Linked DNA regions of Homo sapiens: region 1 is linked to region 2. Evidence: promoter capture Hi-C in 16 types of primary human blood cells and fetal thymus (Javierre and others, 2016). All regions are on one chromosome and are shown on one strand. The core of a region is centred on a gene start or on the middle of the fragment in contact, and the rest is flanking DNA. Distances in the headings are between cores, read along the strand shown.

The links. Contacts are between HindIII fragments. The CHiCAGO score rates a contact against its expected background, and 5 or more counts as called.
Region 1: a fragment that was not itself captured here is called in contact with the fragment with the promoter of NCBP2-AS1 in region 2 in 2 of 17 cell types (naive B cells and total B cells); the score reaches 5.6 in naive B cells.

The regions. Positions count from the first base shown.
Region 1 is chr3:196,250,783-196,255,622 of GRCh38, reverse strand. All of the region lies in intron 3 of PCYT1A (phosphate cytidylyltransferase 1A, choline), which reads left to right. Among named protein-coding and RNA genes, the nearest start is that of PCYT1A, 35 kb to the left of the region's middle. The HindIII fragment of the contact is 1,188 bases long and covers 2,965-4,152 here.
Region 2 is chr3:196,936,564-196,941,588 of GRCh38, reverse strand. It overlaps NCBP2-AS1 (NCBP2 antisense RNA 1), which reads right to left and starts at 1,712. Exons shown (of 3, transcript NR_046630.1): 1 at 1,462-1,712; 2 at 447-615. NCBP2 (nuclear cap binding protein subunit 2) reads left to right here. Exons shown (of 4, transcript NM_007362.5): 2 at 2,157-2,338; 3 at 3,941-4,079; 4 at 4,507-5,025. The coding sequence ends at 4,578. The HindIII fragment of the contact is 10,665 bases long and covers 1-5,025 here.

The sequences.
Region 1 (4,840 bases), core at 2,309-4,808, 690 kb after region 2:
TTCTGGGTTCAAGCAGTTCTCAAATCTCAGCCTCCCAAGTAGCTGGGATTACAGGAGTGAGCCACCGTGCCGGGCCTGTTTCCAAGTTTTAAAGCTTATAATTAACAAGTCCTGACTGGTATAATTGTTTTTAATTTTAGAATTATAGGATTTTACAAATAAGTCATTTTCAAGATTATCTACTTTATAGTTTCTTCATTAAGTACATAAAGCAATTAAGGTCCATAGTAACCAAGAAGCGAAGGCTTCCCCTACAGTAAAACGGATGATTAGTGGAATAGAATTGCAGCTCAAACCTCACCCGGGAATGGTGCTACTCATTGTAAGCATTAGAATAGAAGGCCTTCAGCAAAATAATTGTATTTTTGGTGGAACAAACAGCCACAAATTAGCCTATAAATTTGCCAGCTTAATTTGAACTCTGGTTTTTCTCTTAGATCTCATTTTGTCTGACTGTTTTATGTTAAATCACCAAGTAGGTAACTGCATTCATGCCAGTGCAGGACAAGGAATAAAGCAATAAAGAATGCACCTGCTCTAGTGAAGTTTCAACACCTCCCTCCTGCTCCCCAGGTTTTTACGAGGGAGGTTGTATAATCTAGGAGAAGATTCTCTACTTAGAGAAAAACAAATATGATTTGAGAGACAAGAAGGTCAGCTCTAGGAATCTTTTGGGAGATGAAAAAAATCAGCAATATGTTTAACTCAGAGAAAGGAAGGAAAAGGGAGAGTGTGAAGGGCAATGGAAATGTTAGGAACAGAATGTTTCGGTGGTAGGTATTTGGGAGAGTAAATCTATCAAAAGAGATCATTAACTGAAACCCAGGTTTCTTCTGCCTAAAGGAGGACATATGGTTACTTAGTCACCAGTGGTGCAGCGTATAATTCATAACCCACATAAACCATATAATTTATCATCCAAATCAGGACGGTTTTGAGCATGAAAGGGAGTTGCTGTTAATAATATACAGAGGTTGAGTGTGGTGGCTCATGCCTATAATCCCAGCACTTTGGGAGGCCAAGGCAGAAGGATTGCTTGAGGCTAGGAATTCAAGGCCAGCCTGGGCAATACAGTGAGATCCCATCTCTACAAAAATTTTAATAATTAGCCAGGTGTGGTGGTGTGCATCTATAGTCCCAGCCACTCAGGAGGCTGAGGTGAGAGGATTGTTTGAGCCCAGGAGGTCTAGACCACGGCAAGTCATGATTGCACCACTGCACTTCAGCCTGGGTGACAGAGACCCTATCTTAAAAAATAAATAAATACATAAATAAAAATTAAAAAAATATATATATAGGCCAGGTACAGTGACTCACACCTGTAATCCCAGCACTTTGGAAAGCTGAGGTGGGTGGATCATAAGGTCAGGAGATCGAGACCATCCTGGCTAACATGGTGAAACCCCGTCTCTACTAAAAATATAAAAAATTAGCCAGGCGTGGTGGCACACACCTGTAATCCCAGCTATTCAGGAGGCTGAGACAGGAGAATCACTTGAGCCTGGGAGGCAGAGGTTGCAGTGAGCCTAGGTCACGTCACTGCACTCTAGCCTGGGCGACAGAGTGAGACTCCGTCTCAAAAAAAAAAAATCTATCTATCTATCTATATAACATATATACATATGTAATATATGCATAATATATAAATGATATTAAATATGTATTATATAGTACATTATATAATAGAAACAGGAAAAATTATATTAAAAGTATATAATTTATATAAATATGATTATATATACTATAACATACATTAAATCAGGGGTGTGTTTATCCTGGCCAATAGCCACTTGGTAAAAGAATGGCTAACGCTAGCTTTCTTCCCAGACTAGTTCAACAGTGACCCCTTCTGGCCGTTTGGTTAATATATCAGCCTGGGTTTGCCAAAGACTTGGGATGGAATGGTGGCCAGTTGAGATGTTGGTAGGCTGGGGAAGCACTGGAGAGAGCAAGAGGCGCATCTGGGATTGGTCTGAGAAAAGGTTCAGTGATCTACTTGGCCTAACATAGGATGATTAGCTGTGCTGCAAGCAGCCACTTGATCAACAGCATTCTGTGCTATTGCCACCATCCAGGCAATGTGTTTCTTGAGCAAAATTTCCCTGCTGTATGCTGTCTAGTAGCAAAGAAACAACAAAGTAGTCTTCATTTGTATATTCTATCCCTTGTGTTTCAGGATCGAATAGTGTGAGATCATAGCCCCTCTGGACTTGTTTAGGGAAAATGGAACTATGTTAGTTACTTCATGGACGTGACTTCTGGGATACTTCAATTTTTTTTTTTTTTGAGACAGAGTCTTGCTCTGTCTCGCAGGCTGGAGTGCAGTGGCGCGATCTCAGCTCACTGCAACCTCTGCCTCCTGGGTTCAAGAGATTCTCCTGCCTCAGCCTCCCGAGTAGCTGGGATTACAGGCGCCCACCACCATACCCAGCTAATTTTTGTATTTTTAGTAGACACAGGGTTTCACCATGTTGGCCAGGCTGGCCTCAACTGCTGACCTCAGGTGATCCACCTGCCTTGGCCTCCCAAAGTGCTGGGATTACAGGCGTGAGCCACTGTGCCCGGCCCAAAAATCTTTTTAATGTATTATTTTTTAATAGGCATAGAGCCAATGCAGTGATTTCTGGGACATAGAAGGGGGATTATATGCTCAAATTTTGTTTTATTTTGCTTTGTCTTATTAAAAATTATCTTTTTAAAAATATTTTTTTCTTCTTTTTTTTTAGTTGACACATGCTGGCAGTAAAAAATAATTTTAATAGAGATAGGGTTTCACTGTGTTGCCCAGGCTGGTCTCAGACTCCTGGGCTCAAGCAGTCCTCCTACCTTGGTCTCCCAAGGTGCTGGAATTACAGGTGTGAGCTACTGTACCCAGCCTGCTTTCTCTCATAGATGAGAAAACTGAGGCATAAGGAAGTTAAGGTTACAGAGGAAGAAAGCTGGTTGGAAAGCTTGGTCAAAGCTTGAGCTATGACCTTTCTGACTCTTAAATCCATTAATTAATTCTTAGTTTTTCATTGGATTGGTATATTTAATTTAAAATTTTTATTTCCTGTATTATAAAATCAATACAACCAGCCTGGGCTGGGCATGGTGGCTCACGCCCGTAATCCCAGAACTTCGGGAGGCCAAGGCGGGCAGATCACTTGAGGTCAGGAAATTGAGACCAGCCTGGCCAACATGGGATACGAATATAAAAATACAAAAATTATCCCGGCTTGGTGGCTTTCGCCTGTAATCCCAGTGACTTGGGAGGCTGAGGCAGGATAGTCACTTGAACCCAGGAGGCAGAGGTTGCAGTGAGCCTAGATCATGTCACCACACTCCAGCCTGGGCAACAGAGCAAGACTCCATCTCAAATAAATAAATAAATAAAAATACAACTAGCTTGGGCAACATGTGAAACCCCATCTGTACAAAAAATACAAAAATCAGCTGAGCGTAGTGGTGTGCGCTGTAGCCAGTGGGGCGTGGCGGTGTGCACTGTAGCCAGTGGGGCGTGGCGGGGTGCGCTGTAGTCTGCGGGGCGTGGCGGGGTGCGCTGTAGTCAGCGGGGCGTGGTGGTGTGCGCTGTAGTCCCAGCTTCTCGGGAGGCTGAGGCGGGAGGATCATTTGAGCCTGGGAGGTGGAGGTTTCAGTGATCTGAGACCATGCCACTGCACTCCAGCCAGGGTGACAGAGCCAGACCCTGTCTCAAAAAATCAAATCAAGTGAAATCAATACATTCCCACAGTTTAATATCCATAAAATACAAAAAGGGCATAAAGTAAAATGTCTCCCTCTCAAGACCTGTCTCACAGCCACCTGGTATCCCTATAACAGGCCACCAATATTACCCATTTCTGTGAATATCTAAGTAAATTGTTTATATATCCTCCCACCTTTTAGTGGGTGTATTATGCTATATTCAATCTTCCGTTGAAATGTAGGTCGTTTCCTGACTGTTGCTATTATAAACAGTACTGCAATGAATAACATCTATATTTACTGTGAGATAATTCCCAGAATTAGAAAAGCTGGGCCACAGCTATAAGCATTTGTCGTTTGTCTTTTGATAGATACGACCTAATTGCCCTTCTTGAAAGTTGCTGATACTCCTTTCAGCAGTGTATGATTTCTTGGTTTAAAATCTACTTATTTATGAGTAAAGCTTTTTGAAAACAAAAATTCATAAACCTCCTGAGAACTACTTTCCTTCTCCTTCATTCATTGCCCTGAAGACAGGAAGGAGATGTATCTGATCCTCAACCTCAGCATGGTGTATCTGATCCTCAGCCTCAGCATAGTGTATCTGGTCCTCAGCCTCAGCATAGTGTATCTGATCCTCAACCTCAGCATGGTGTATCTGGTCCTCAACCTCAGCATGGTGTATCTGGTCCTCAGCCTCAGCATGGTGTATCTGGTCCTCAGCCTCAGCATGGTGTATCTGGTCCTCAGCCTCAGCATGGTGTATGTGATCCTCAGCCTCAGCATGGTGTATCTGGTCCTCAGCCTCAGCATGGTGTATCTGATCCTCAGCCTCAGCATGGTGTATCTGGTCCTCAGCCTCAGCATGGTGTATCTGGTCCTCAGCCTCAGCATGGTGTATCTGGTCCTCAGCCTCAGCATGGTGTATCTGGTCCTCAGCCTCAGCATAGGGTATCTGGTCCTCAACCTCAGCATAGTGTATCTGATCCTCAGCATAGTGTATCTGGTCCTCAGCCTCAGCATGGTGTATCTGGTCCTCAGCCTCAGCATAGTGTATCTGATCCTCAACCTCAGCATGGTGTATCTGATCCTCAGCATAGTGTATCTGGTCCTCAACCTCAGCATAGTGTATCTGATCCTCAGCATAGTGTAT
Region 2 (5,025 bases), core at 463-2,962:
CAGTTTCTGCGCTCTGCGAGCTCATAATCCCCTGTAGTGAGGATTCAGAAAAGGGAAAAATCCCCTTGTGACTGGGAAAGGAAGGGGCGCATATAGCAGAGGGTAAGTGTGGAGAATGTGTGAAATGTGTTACTAGAGTAGGGAAAGGGAAATTTTGTTTGACGCTAAATTAGGGAAGCTCTTAGATTTATTTAGTCAAGGCTGGGAACGGTGGCTCACGCCTGTAATCCCAGCACTTTGGGAGGCTGAGGCGGGTGGATCACGAGGTTAGGAGTTCAAGACTAGCCTGGCCAAGATGGTGAAACCCCGTCTTACTAAAAATACAAAAATTAGGCGGGCGTGGTGGCAGGCGCTTGTAATCCCAGCTATTCGGGAGGCTGAGGCAGGAGAATCGCTTGAACCGGGGAGGTGGAGGTTGCTGTGAGATCGCGCCACTGCACTCCAGCCTGGGCAACAGAGCGATATTCCTTCTCAAAAAAAAAAAATTTATTCAGTTAATGTATTTTATTTTTTGAGACAGAGTCTCGCTTTATTGCCTAGGCTGAAGTGCAGTGGCGCAATCACGGCTCACGCAGCCTCAACCTCCTGAGCCTAAGTGATCCTACCCACCTCAGCCTCCTGAGAAGCTGGGACCACAGGCTCGCGCCACCACATCCAGCTAATTTTTTGTAGAGACAGGGTCTCCCTGTGTTGCTCAGGCCAGTCTCGAACTCTGGGACTCAAGCGATCCACCTGCCTGGGGCTTCCCAAAGTGCTGGGATGCCTAAGTGCCAGGCATGATTTGCACTTCTACCACTTTTAGTTACTACTTTAGACAGTTCCACATCCTGACCATTTTGAACTTAAAGCATCCTGTGAGATGAAAACTGGAACCTTCTGACTTTGTCTATTATTCATCTCCTCAGTCTAAACCTGTAGCTTTTTTTAGATGCTAATGCCATACTGTCATGTGGAATTTCTAGCATTCTGTGAATGGAATCCATATTAATATACTTTAAGCACTTACACCACAGTTATCTTAAACTGTAGGCTATTTATTTGGATCTTACTTACATGTGTGAGAAAAGTAGAAAAAGAAGATGCCTCCTTTCCATGTTCACAAATCAGTAACAGCAGTAAAATGAAAGGAATTTACTTTCTCTAATGTCTCACTCCAAAGTTCCGAAAACCTCTTTTTAACATACAATGACTATTGTCCTGTGGACTTTTTTTTTTTGAGATAGAGTTTCACTCTTGTTGTCCAGGCTCAAGTGCAGTGGTGCAATCTCAGCTCCCTGCAACCTCCACCTCCCAGGTTCAAGCGATTCTCCTGCTTCAGCCTCCCGAGTAGCTGGGATTACAGGCGCCCGCTGCTACCATGCCCAGCTAATTTTTGTATTTTTAGTAGAGACAGGGTTTCATTCACTATGTTAGCCAGGCTGGTCTCAAACTCTTGACCTCAGGCGATCCACTCGCCTCAGCCTCCCAAAGTGCTGGGATTACAGGCATGAGCCACCGCGCCTGACCCCGATGAGCCATTTTGGACCCAGGGCTTTGTCTGTCAGGTGTGTTGGATGAAGCCCAGTTATATGCTTAAGTCTCTGGCTTCATCCTGTCATCCCAATTTGGAAGCCCATTAAGAAAGTGAGCTCTGTTTTGTTTTTAGTGATCACTACATTTTCCCCTAAACTCAGAGAAAGATCTATGAGCACGTAAAGCATCAAGGTTGTGGCTTTCAACAGTCTCTAGGGGGTTATTAAAGAGGAACTCTCTCTCTCTCTGAAAACCCACTTATTTTTCACTACGAAGGATAAAAGGGCCCTTTGTCATATATTGGGTCAAGGTCCAGAGTCTACACTTGGGTTTAAAGGATGCACTGCTGAGGATATGGTGTGTGCAGGGAAAAGGGAAGCCGCTTGCGTGGCAGTCGGGCGTAGAAGTGACTTTGTTGTATGTGGTATAACTTTTGAGCCCTGTCTCTACTAAGAGTCTGGACTTCGCATAAGTGCTTCACAGAAGGTCGACATCCCCCTTTTTGGGCAAGGGATTTCTGGTAGGCTGGGATGAGAGAAGTTGATTTCCAAACCAGAATTAATGAATGTCTCTACCGTACTTAGAAATACTATTTAAGCAAGGCTCTGAAGTTGCTTAACTTTTGTCTCTATTTGAAATTCTAGGGTGACAATGAAGAACAAGAAAAATTACTGAAGAAAAGCTGTACGTTATATGTTGGAAATCTTTCTTTTTACACAACTGAAGAACAAATCTATGAACTCTTCAGCAAAAGTGGTGACATAAAGAAAATCATTATGGGTCTGGATAAAATGAAGAAAACAGCATGTGGATTCTGTTTTGTGGAGTATCCTTCCCATGGATCTAATGTAGCTGCTGAACCAGGGTAGAGCTGAGAGTGGTAGCTCATAAGCGTCCCTGCACTCGTCCCTACGTTTTCCTTCATCTCCCTCCTACTTTCCACCCAGTGTGTCTCTGCCCTTATACTGTAAAGCTGATACTATTTATATTCTCTTCTGAAATCCATGCTTTATGGTTCTTTAACAAAAAGTTTTTCAAGAATGTTTGCCCTTCACGTAAAAAAAAAAAAATTCCAAAGAATGTAGTGAAAATATAAAAATCTCGTACTGTTCTAAACCCCTAATGCCCTTTGCCAGAGGCAGTCAGTTACCAGTTTCTTGGGCGTCTTTCAAGAAGTAACCCTGTGGGTGTGCGGTAGTGTATTTCATGTGCTGTTTTTAAAATCATTTTTTTATTTTTTATTGTTCCATTTCAGCATATGTAGGTCTTTTTTTAAAATAGCTGTACAGCTGGGCATGGTGGCTGGTGTTTGTAGTGCCAGCTGCTCAGGAAGCTGAGGCAGGAGGATCAGTTGAGCCCAAGATTTCAAGGCTGCACTGAGTTGTGACTGTGTTCCAGCGGGGGTGACGGGTTAAGACCCCATCTTTAAAGAAAAAAACTTTTAAGTAAATAGCTGTATAGTATTTCATTATATAGATGTATATAACCTGACTGTATAGGTACAAACCAAAACTATTTACTTTGATCATTTAATTCCCTTACTCAGACTCTTTTAAGTATTGGACCTCTTGGATTTATCCTATGTTCTTTTTACTGTATGTTTTGGTCATTCAATTTAATATTCTGAGAAATTTTGCAGGCCCAATTTAATATATCTTTTGAATTTTTTCCTGTGCCCTGAATTATGTTTGTTTCGGTTGAAATTTTTCCTTAAGTGTCTGGTGATCCCTGGATTTCTGCTCATAATTAAGGAAAAGAATGCTGACTCACTGGACCCAGGCAGGGCTTCTCTCCCAGATTGCAGGCTTGCCTCGGGGATACACAGGTTTCCCAAATGCTAGAATGAAAAGAGATTTTATTTTGGCTTGCTAACATCAAAGATACTAGTTTCTCCAGATGGTTTATTCAGAACACTGTTGTCTTATTTTTATTTGTCTGAGATTAAATGTCTTCCCCTTTAATTAAAGGGAGGTCTCTGATGAAGTAGGTTTGGGAACTGCTACCTTGGTGACAGCTTGAGTCTTTCCTTTAGTGAAGTGCAGCACAATTCCACGTGCACGGTGACCTTCTCTTGATTAGGGTGCCTTGGAATGTACAGAACCTAACTTGAATATACAGCACTGGTTTCTTGGATAAGAAGTGTACAGTGATCTAAACTTGCAAACCAAAATACAGAGATGATGGGACCAAAAATTATCAACAGGAATGTCCAAGAAATATGATCAGTGTAGCCATGGATACGTGTCATATTTGACTCTATGTGCTTCCAAACCAATCGCAAACAGGCCTGGGCAAGCTGAATTACTGTCTTTGAACTCCATCTGGTTGGATTAGCTCTTGTACTTTTTAACAACTCAGCTTCATTTACATGTTGTTCCCCTATTTCCAGAAATGTTTGGAAAAATGCTAGTGTTCCTTAATACTTAAGATATTACTCACGCGCAGATGCGGAAAACGCCATGCGGTACATAAATGGGACGCGTCTGGATGACCGAATCATTCGCACAGACTGGGACGCAGGCTTTAAGGAGGGCAGGCAATACGGCCGTGGGCGATCTGGGGGCCAGGTATGCAAGAAGGGTCTCTGGGCTCAGCCATTGCCTGGGATTCCAGTCACAATGACAGGTGTTTTGGCAATTTGTATTTACTCTTTTGTAAATAACTTTGTGTCTATAACCTTGGCTTGAAGTGGATCTGAAAACCACCCAACGGTTTGGGTGAATTTTTTTTTTAAACCGTGAAATGGTATGTTCTGTACGTTTCTAACAAGCAACCATTCTTGAACTTCTGCTAGGGCTAGGTATCTTCCACCTGCAGGAACATCTAAAATGAAAGCAAAACGCACTGAAGTGAGCTGAAGTGCATATGTCCTGCTTGAAATGTTCACATTGTGGCATCTGAACAGGTTTCACTGTTTGTCTAACATGTTTGTGGGAGGCATATTTGTTACACCATTCTTTTCCATACTGTAACTCTGGATTCTTTCCATTAAAGGTTCGGGATGAGTATCGGCAGGACTACGATGCTGGGAGAGGAGGCTATGGAAAACTGGCACAGAACCAGTGAGTGGTGAGAGCTCTGTCAGTGACAAACACTCCTTTGGCCTGTTGAATTTGCTGAAGAACATCACCTAAAGTCTGCACACGAGCCCATTTTTACCAAGATTTGATCAGTGTCTTTACTGAGCTGGAAGCCTCTGAAAGTTATTAAAGGACAGAATCCAAAAGAATGCCTTTAATTCTTGTCTGAGAATCTTGGCCATGTGTCAGATTATCAGAACAATTTTGTTACCAGGTCAGAAATTGTGTTCTTTGACAACAGATTGGATCTGTAATGTTGATTAGTCTTTAGCCATAACCACTACACTTTTAGAAAGACAGAAAAATGTAAGAATTTGTTTTTACCATAATGAGTCTTAAGTAGGTTCATGATCTACATTGGGGCCTGGGATTATTTTTTTAATTTTAAGTTTGCATGAGATAGCCTAATAAATGGAGGTGGGGCCAGGCATGG